Linked DNA regions of Homo sapiens: region 2 is linked to region 1. Evidence: promoter capture Hi-C in 16 types of primary human blood cells and fetal thymus (Javierre and others, 2016). All regions are on one chromosome and are shown on one strand. Each heading gives the region's core, a stretch centred on a gene start or on the middle of the fragment in contact. The rest is flanking DNA. Distances are from core to core; before and after follow the strand shown. Region 1 holds the start of C17orf75 (chromosome 17 open reading frame 75). Region 2 overlaps MYO1D (myosin ID).

Region 1 (5,045 bases), core at 1,568-4,067:
TCTTCTAAGTACAAAACTTATTAGCCTGGGCAACATGGTAGGACCCCATTTCTAAAAAAAAAAAAAAAAAAAAATTAAAAAAATTGCTGGGCATCGTAGTGCCTGCCTGCAGTCCCAGCTACTTGGGAGGCTGAGGTGAGAGGATTGATTAAGCCCAGGAGGTCAAGGCTGCAGTGAGCTGTAATCGGGCCGCTGCACTCCAGCCTGGGCAACAAAGCAAGACCCTGTCTCAAAAAAAAATAAACTAATTAAATAAAGTGCAATTGGGTGCCAGGGTCTCTGCCATTCAATTAATTCCATTCCACAAATGTTTATGTGTGAGGCCCAGTGCTCGGGCTGCCAGAGAATAAAGACAAATTCTGCAGGTCTAGTAGGAGCTGATCTTTTGGAGTTTCTCATCACTTCTCATATTTAGTTCAGAAATAAAAACTCAGGACACAGCACATTTTGCACTTACTTTAGCTCCACAGATGCAACATTACCCAGCCCTTCAAAGACTGCACCTCTTGAAAGACGCTTAGCAATGAAACTGCGCAGCTCTGGCTCCACTTCGGATGGTAGATTAGTATCTGCCAAGGAGAGGCTTGACAAATGAAAGACACACATTCTTTACCAGTGGACTAGGGTATTCACACCCATTAAGTCAGACAGAATGGTACCAACGCCAGGGGCTCTTTTAAGGACTGGGGAAAGCTGTCCTTATGACCCCTATTGGTGAGGCTTCTAGGAATGTATGTCACTAAGTATGATCTACCTCATCAAATAGCTTAAAATATTCCTATCTTTCCAGCTCATTCTCTCCAGTACTGTGACTCCACTGGAACCCCCAATCCACTGACCCTACCTCTTTTTCAGTCTCTCAAGTTTCTCATCTCACTTCCCTCCTTATTCTGCCTTAATTCCATGGTCAGTCATTATAATCACACCCCTGCACACATTCTTATCTTTTTTATCTTTCAACTTTATTGAGGTATAATTGATGATTTAAAAATTTCAGGGCTGGGGCCGGGAGCAGTGGCTCACGCCTGTAATCTCAGCACTTTGGGAGGCCGAGGCAGGTGGACCACAAGGTCAAGAGATAGAGATCATCCTGGCTAACACAGTGAAACCCCGTCTCTACTAAAAAAAAATACAAAAAAATTAGCCGGGCGTGGTGGTGGGTGCCTGTAGTCCTAGCTACTCGGGAGGCTGAGGCAGGAGAATGGCGTGAACCCGGGAGGCAGAGCTTGCAGTGAGCTGAGATCGCACCACTGCACTCCAGACTGGGCAACAGAGGGAGACTCTGTCTCAAAAAAAAAAAAAAATTTTTCAGGGCTGGGCAAGGTGGCTCATGCCTGTAATCCCAACACTTTGCGAGGCAGAAGTGGGCGGATCACTTGAGTCCAGGAGTTCAAGACCAGCCTGGGCAACATGGTGAAACCCCATCTCTACCAGAAATACAAAAATTAGCCAGGCGTGGTGGTCAGTAGTCCCAGCTACTGGGGAGGCTGAGGTGAGAGGATCACCTGAGGCCGGGGAGGTTGACGCTGCAGCGAGCCAAAGTCATGCCACTGCACTCCAGCCTGGGCAGCAGAGCAAGACCCTGTCTCAATTTAAAAGGAAAAAGAAAAAAAAAGGATTTCTTTTTGGCTAATCACCAAGCACACTATCAGTATGTGGATTTGTTTGCCCCAGCCTTGAATGAACCAGCCAATGAGGAAATCAGGATGAGGTTCCTAGGGGATAGGAGGAATTGACGGTTTGACTCAGGGAAAGCTCAGTGGAAATAGAGTATCCACTGACATGTACAGGCCAGAGATGCAGGGAAGATGAAAGCACATGCATGAATTATGCTGAAGCTCTTTTTACCTGAAATCATCACCAGAGGGAGTTTCTGCATTTGTGCCACTTGGGCTTCCGTCCTCACTGTCCCCTCGTTGCTGTGCCAATCTACAAGCCACAAAACCAATAGTGCTATCAATTATGGGCTCTAAACCAAGAGGAGTATGGGGGCCTGGCAAGCAGGGTAAGGCAAGGAGTCAACTAAAAATGCTGCAAGGTGGAAGTGCACTGCCTATCCTCATGACAAGGAAAACCCATACAGCAGTGCTGACAAGAGCCCCTTCTCTCTCCAGGCCACTTAACGGGTGGAGGAAAGGCTAAATACCCAGAAGGTTCAAGGAAACTCCTTTAAAAACCAAACTTGACAAGGCCAAGAAGGTTCCAGGAAAGTCAGAAGGAGGAAAAAGAGGAATCAAGAACAGAGGAAAACCAGAGGGTGGGGATGGGGGTGTGTGTGACAGAAATGGGAGAAGTGGGGAGATAATGACAGAAAGGAGAGGGGACGGGAACTGAAATTATTGAGCATGCGGGGCACTGCGCTAAACAAAGGGCAGCCGCGAGAGTAAGAGGCTGGGATGATATAGGGGCAGATGAAGGGCACAGGCATGGTTGGGCCAGGCATACAAGTCCACGACGGGGGCCAGGAAGAGCAGCGGGAGGCGAGGAGCGCCCTTCAGGCCAGAGACCTTGGCTGGGAGAGGAGAAGATGGCTTTTAGGAGCGGCCGGGCCGCTGGGCCGGGGGTGGGGTGCAAGGCCGGGCGGCGGGCCGGGGGCGGGGCCGCAGGGGCGGGCGGGCTGGCAGGCCGAGCTGGGCGCCAGCACCTGCTTCCGCGATAGCTGTAAAGACAGTAGTGGCTGCTGGACGGCGGCTCGAGTCTCCGCTCCTCGGCTGAGCCTCCCTCTTCGCTGCTCTCTAGTTCCTTTTCATCTCCATCCATCGACTCCTGCAAAGAGGGGAGCATTGCGGCGGCCTCTGAGCGGCCCTGTGTCTCCGCCAAACCGCTCCCCTGCTCCCGTGCAGCCGTCGGTATCAGGGCTCGTCCGGCTCCCGGCCCTCGCACACCTGCGTTCCGCTGGTTTCCCCGGGTTCGCAGGCAAGGACTGGCCTGGAAAGGGAGTCTCTTCTCCCCACAGGGGCTGACAGGCGTACTGAGTTCGCCTTTACTGACAAGCTTTTACCATTTATTTTGAACTTATTTTCCTTTGAGACATCTGGGAAACTTTCTATGTGATAAAGGTGGCACAACTACCTAGCCACATGGAAAAGAATAAGGCTACTCGTCTGCCTCCTTGCGCGCGTGCCAGCACGCACAGACACCCGTTTGATCAAAAAGTTAAGAATTTAAAATGAATTTTGTTAAAGTGAAAATATGGGATAATTTTGTTAATTCTTGAAGAGGGTCTTTCCAAACATAACAAAACACTTAGAAGTCATACAGGAAAACGTTTAAAAAAATGACTACGTAAAAACTAAAAGGCCGGGCACGGTGGCTCACGCCTGTAATTCCAGTGCTTTGGGAGACCGACGCAGGCGGATCACTTGAGGTCAGAAGTTCAAGACCAGCCTGGGCAACATGGTGAAACTGTGTCTCTACTAAAAGTACAAAAAAATTAGCCACGTGTGGTGGTTCACGCCTGTAATGCCAGCTACCCTTCCAGTCTCTGCCCATTACCCAGTTCTAACACCAATTCACATTTTCAGGTGTTTGTTTCTGCAACACCCCATTCTCTGGTACCAGTTTTCTGTCTCAGTCCATTTTATGATGCTATAAAAGGATACCAAAGACTGGGCAATTTATAATTAGCTCTTAAAGGCCCCACTTCTTAATAGTCTTACAATGGCAATTACATTTCAACATGAATTTGGGAGTGGACAAACACTCAAACCATAGCGCCACGTGAAGGAGGAGGCAGACTGGAGTGATGTATCTACAAACCAAGGAATGTCAAGGATTGATGGTCATCACCAGAAGCTAGGAGAGGACATGGAACAGATTCTCCCCTAGAGGCTTCAAGAGAGTATGTCCCCACCAGCACCTCCATGTCAACTTCCAGCCTCCAGAACTGTGAAATAATACATTTCCATTGTTTTAAGCCACCGTGTGTGTGTGCATGCGTGTGTTTTGTGTTTTTTTTTTTTATTTTTAGTAGTGCAAACTTTATTCATAAATAAAACTTCATAAAGTTAAAAGCAGGGGCAGTTCCTATTTTTAAAAAGGAATAGTGGAAGGCAACCTGCCATTTCATTTAAAATTACAAGTTAGGTTTTTCAGATGGATAACAGTTGAGATCGTTAAATCCCCTTCCTGCTTCTCAGATTTTCACAAAATAGCACATTAAATCCTCAGTCCTAAGCAATTATGGCAGAGATTCCAAATTGCCTCTCCATATCAAAGTGGATAGCACAGTTTCTTCTCTTGCAATAAAGGTACTCATTTGATGAACAAGTGAGTATAGCAGTCAGATTCTTAAAAGATTGTATTGCAGAAGTTACTGCCATGTCTTCATTCGCAATGGGTATCCTCACCTCTATCTCCCATTCAGTAACATTGTCAGTTTCCTTATCTCTCATTTCAACTACATTTAAAAGAGGATTCTGATTGCGGACAACACATGACAGAGGCATTTCAGATCGGCAGTAGTCTCTTGAGATATACTTGATTTTAGTTTTAAGCAGAAGAACTTCCTGGAGAGGTTGAGTTACCACAGTCATGAGGATGGTAGAAAAACTCATAGTAGATATTTGGCAAAACTAGGTTACAAGGCAGCCATCTCCTAGAAACACTTCATCGGGGTTCATATACAAATTGTGAAATATCGTGGGTTTAATCCTGGCACAGAACCAAAACTGGGTGCATTGTACTTGAATAGCCGACCAGTCCCCAGCACAGGTCCATATCAAGGAATTGAGAAAAAAGAGCCCATTTAACCGCAAAATGGTCTTCATTTGCCCAGACTGAAAGCCAAATCTCACTCAGGAAACAGCTGTATTTTTATTTTTTATAGAGACAGTGTATCACTTTGTTGCTCAGGCTGGTCTTGAACTCCTGGGCTCAAGTGATCCTTCTGCCCCATCCTCCCGAAGTGCTGACATTACAGGTGTGAGCCACCATGCCCAGGTGGTACGTGTTATAGCAGCCATAAGAAACTAATACAGTGGCTGGGTGTGGTGGCTCACGCCTGTAATCCCAGCACTTTGGGAGGCCGAGGCAGGCGGATCACA
Region 2 (5,084 bases), core at 281-2,780, 420 kb after region 1:
CTTTCTATCATGAAATACACCGTCTGAGATTAGTACAGCCCAAGGCAAAGATAATAAGGTAGACACCATTTCTCCCATTACAAACTCATTTTAATCCTGCCTCCAGATCCCACACCCAACCCTACTCCTTCATACCAATCTGCCTGCCATTAACTGTAAGGTCCACCTTCCACAAAGGGCCAACAAATAACCTTAAAGTATTATCTGATATACTACTTCATAATAAAGTTAAGGTACTACACAAAACTTGCAATTTTATAAAAGTAGGGTACAAGTTAAATGTTTAGTTCTAGAAATTTTGTGCAATATGTTCATAACGATGGCTGCAGTTGCCACAAAGTGCCTCGTTTACCTTTAAATACTGTTAATGTGTCACGCATGCAGATGGAAGGGGTGGAACTGTGCACTAAAGTGGGGGCTTTAACTGTAGTGTTTGGCAGAGTTGCCTTCTACCTGCCAGTTCAAAAGTTCTGTTTTCATGCAGAATATATATACTAAAAAATTTCAGTCTTTTAAACAGCCTTACTCTGATTCAGCCTCTTCAGATACTCTTGTGCTGTGCAGTAGTGGCTCTATGTGTAAATGCCATGCACTGAGGGTACACAAAAATATCAACATTATGTGTACAGGATAATGCCTCATCCCAATCAGATGTCCATTTGTCATTGTGTTTGTTAACAACCCTTTATCTCTTAGTGTTAAATAAACTCCACTTAAAACGGAAAAAAAAAAAAAAGAACTTGCATTTTTAGTTACATGACCCTGAATGACTAAAATCCAAAAGAGCATTTCTTTTGGTTTCCCCAAAGTTAAAAAGCTTCAATAGAATTTTGAACAATTTGAAAAAATTCAGTAGAATTTTTACATTTTTCTAGGCATAATATAAAGAATTTAATTCTGAGAAATAAATATCTATAAAAGATAAGAAAAAGCTTTTCCTTTACTTCCACAAGGTGAATGAAGTTATAAATAACTTCTGGCTTTTCAGCAACTATACATGTACAAGGTTTGTCCAACAATCCTCTGCCACACCTGTTTATTCTGACAGCCTGCAATGTACCTATCACTACACACAGAAGGCACACAAAGAAAGGCCAACTCAGGCAAGCTGCACATCTCAAAGAGGGGCAGCTTATGATCACACAGTTTAATCTTGCTATGTCCCATCTTACGCAGGAGTTACCTAAACTGATTGCTGTCTCCATTACCTTCTATAAGGTCTATATACTCATAATAGACCATTCAAGTGACTCATGTATTCCCATTTCATGCTTTAAAATCCAAGGTTTTATGCCAGTTATTTGTACATGGCTTTTAGCTCCATTTCTAGTCTTGCATGTTCTCTTCTGTATCTTATGGACTGAAACCTGTAAACTGGGTAGTTTTTACTTTGTTTTTTATACTTTTCTGATCTGTCTAAACTAAAGTTTCTCAAATAGGGGAATAGGGGGAATTTTGCTCACCAGGGGACATTTGGCAATATCAGGAGACATTTCTAGTCAAAATGGGGTAGGGGTGCTACTGTCATTTGGTGGGTAGAGGCCAGGGGTGCTGCTAAACATCCTACAATGCATAGAACAGCCTCCACAACAAAGAACTATCTGGCACAAAATCTCAGTAGTACTGAGGTGAAGCAGTGTAGGTCTAAATATTTACTTTCATTATGGGCATTTATTACATTTCTAATTAGGGAGAAAAGTTATTTCCATCTTTGGAAAAAAAATCCTAAAAATACTCAAAAAGCAGGAGCTCTATATTAATAGTTGACATCTTAGACTTCGGGACTGTGAAATTAAAGACGAAGTCTTTTGTCCCAGGGACTAAAGAATTACCTTCCCTAAAATCCCAATTATATTATTAAAAGCTATTGGTCTCTGCTAGTAACTTTCAGTTTGTAAGTTTAATACTGCTTCAAACATTGCTTAAACCAGTAGTTTTCAAACTAAGTTCTTCCAGCAACTTGGCATTCCCGTAAGGTTTCCTAAGGGATACCAGGAGCCAGAAGACTTGTGATGGGGTAGCTTAGGGACATGGGGCTCTGGCCTTTCATACCCACTCCAGATAAAACAGCTTTGTGCTTGAGTATCAAGTTCTCAATAGTTAAAATGATTTGCAAACTACAGCATCGAAAGCTTTTAAAAGTGAATGTACCAGATAACCAGACATTATGAACCTCCTGGTGGAAGTTCACACACAGTCTATGAAATGGGCTGTGGAAAAAAACTGACTCTGAATCCAGTCAAGACTCTAGATCTAACAACCAATATACAGGACATACAAGAAACAGAGAAACATATTAAATGGCACCTGAGGAATGCAATTAGCAAAATCCAGACTGTGGGGAACTCCATAACAAATGACTCATTCTCTTCAACACAAGATTGCAAAGAGAGATCATTCAAGGAAAAAAAGAAACATGGAGAAAATCTATAGATATGCAAGAGACCTATCAATCAATCATAATGTAAGAAACTTATTTGGATCCAAATTTAACCTGCAAAACAACAACCAGAAGACAATTAAGGAAATATGAAACATGTATACTGACTGGATATTTTATGATATTAAGGAATTTTTGTTAATGTTTTAGGTATGATAATGGCATTGTGATTATGGTTTTTGTAAAACTCTCTTAGAGAAATACATGGAAATATTTACTGAATAGATACCCAATTGAATAGATGAAATAATGTGATATCTGAAATTTGCTTCAAAATAATCTGGGAGTAGGTGGGTATAGTACAGATGGCATAAGACTGGCAATCAACTGGTACGTGTTAAAGCCAGGTGATGGGTATATAGGGTTTACTGTACTATAGTCTGTCTTCTTAATGTGTGTTTAAAATTTTCCATAATAAAAAATCTTTTAAAAAGAATCACTATGTTTAGAAGTTTGGGGTTTTACCCAGAATAGAGATTCTAATTGTGGGGGGATCTGCCATGTAGTAAGTAACTGTTACCTTGGAGTTAGCCTTCTGCTCCCTCTAGGACAAATAGTTCTTGGTTTATTTAGCGAAAATTTTTTGCATTTTGGGATTCTTAATTCTTTTTGAGATGTTTGGAACAGTCCACTGCATTACTTACCCTGTTGTCAATTATGTCTGTGAAATTTGATATTCTGATTGTGAAAGGATATTTTTGACTAGTACCTTGGAATCACATTTGAATAACAAGTTTTATGATTAAATTTGGTATTAAAAATCCAAGCTTCAGTTATACCGTGTATTATATTATACAACAGTTTCATTCTTAGAAAGCTTCATATACACTTAATTGAACTGAATTAAATTTTAATTGTATTAGGAGAGTTCATTATTTAAGTCAAACTATAGATAATTCTTATATAAAATAGCCCTTTGGTTTATATGCAGATAGGTAAAATTTATGCCAATATACCTGAGCAACTGTTTTATGGTATTCTAACGTTTAACACATGATGGAAGGCAGATACAATTTTGAGGCGGGAAAGCTATTTGTTATATCACTGTCTCTTTATTTCAGAATGAGAGGAAATAGAAAATAGGTAGGAAGGAAGATAAAAGTCATTTAAATATAGTATTTCAAATATTTTTTTGCTGCTATTATATTGGATAACAAAAAACAAATACTGGCTTCATTTCTATTCTCTGGCAAGAGGATGAACAATCATATAAACTCAAACTACAGAAACTTAAAAGTTTTTGTATTTTTCAAGTTTATTCTCAAAATTGCTTAAAAATACAAACTTACAAGAAAAATTACTATGTCTCATTTCTATCATAAACAGAAGGTCTTATCACAGGAAATTTAAAAACCAAACAAGTCATGCCTTTTAGCTTTGATCTCTGTGGTTTGCACTGTGCACCCATTATACTTTCCAGCTATATCTTACCAGATTAGTTTGCCTCTGACAAATACAAAAGTTCCCAAAGATTGATTAGAGTAGAGGTGATAATTGAAGTGTAATACACAAGAAAATGCAAAGTAAAACAAGTATTTTAATGTGTAGGTTTCAGAGAATATAAACAACATTAACTGAAGACAATAAAATACCATATAGTCTACAAAGTAGAAGAGGAGAAAAAGGAGGAAAAAGGGAAGAAGAAACTAGATTCTGAAGCAAAGTTCAGCCAATTTAAGGTATAACTTAATAAAGTATGCTAAACCTAACAGACAGATATAAACCAGTAAGTCCACGTGGTAGCAGCCATAAAGTGAAAACAGGTTTACTGGTTCTAACTCAGGATGTTCTGGGCATCAACAAGGCAGTCTATCAAATTATAGCAATCCCACCTAAAAATGATGAAATTAATTGTATTTACATATCCCAAAAAGGAAAGCTAAGGTTCAGATGTTTCAAATACCCCCAAAAGATCAAGAAATACCTAAAATAAAATTTGACATTATCAATAATATGAGAAACACATGAAGGCATTTTCCATAAGAGTCCACTCACATGTTTCCAGGGGATCCCTTCCCGCTGGTATTCCTCTTGTTCTTGCTTCAGAACCAGCTGAATAAATAGCTGCTGCAGTTTCTCATTGCAGTAATTGATACAGAATTGTTCAAAACTACAAGAAAAGGAATAAATTAAGTTTCAACAAATAGAAAACAGGCAACAAGGTTTTAAGTATCTTTTCCAGTTTACCTGTTGTTGTCAAAGATTTCAAAGCCATAGATATCCAAGACACCAATAACAGTGTTTTTCCCATGGATTGTGGTGTCATAGTTCTTGACCTCAATAATATCATTGATGCGAGTAACGATCCAACAAAAAAGGCGCTCATATATTGCCTGCAAGGAAAATAGCATCATAAATGCTTGCCAATTTGGGAATGAGTCCTCTGTTTGGATTTGTGATCAGTTTTAAATTCCTGTCCACCTTCTCACTGTTTAGCATAGCCATTACTGGCCTCAGCAGAACAAATGAAAATGTAGACTGTCCATTTAAAAAAACCCAAACTACCTGATGTATGCAAAACTAAAGTAAATAGCTTGTATTTTTAAAAGATTATTACCGGTCATTATACCAATTCCAACGACACTCTCCAGGCATGTTTCCCTGCCCGGCTATATCAATAGTTTGCCTGATCCCTTGAATAAGC

The links. The method cuts DNA at HindIII sites, captures the fragments that hold promoters and counts their contacts. A CHiCAGO score of 5 or more calls a contact.
Region 2: a contact is called between a fragment that was not itself captured here and the fragment with the promoter of C17orf75 in region 1, in 1 of 17 cell types (naive CD8 T cells). The highest score is 5.2, in naive CD8 T cells.

What each region holds. Positions count from the first base shown.
Region 1 is chr17:32,339,356-32,344,400 of GRCh38, forward strand. C17orf75 (chromosome 17 open reading frame 75) reads right to left here and starts at 2,818. Exons shown (of 10, transcript NM_022344.4): 1 at 2,645-2,818; 2 at 1,849-1,929; 3 at 458-583. The coding sequence starts at 2,784. It also overlaps the pseudogene OOSP1P2. RefSeq lists silencers at 1,848-2,030, 2,525-2,604 and an enhancer at 2,499-3,385. The HindIII fragment of the contact is 3,672 bases long and covers 1-2,992 here.
Region 2 is chr17:32,755,855-32,760,938 of GRCh38, forward strand. MYO1D (myosin ID) reads right to left here. Exons shown (of 22, transcript NM_015194.3): 9 at 4,628-4,773; 10 at 4,436-4,550. Among named protein-coding and RNA genes, the nearest start is that of MYO1D-DT, 120 kb to the right of the region's middle. The HindIII fragment of the contact is 1,200 bases long and covers 931-2,130 here.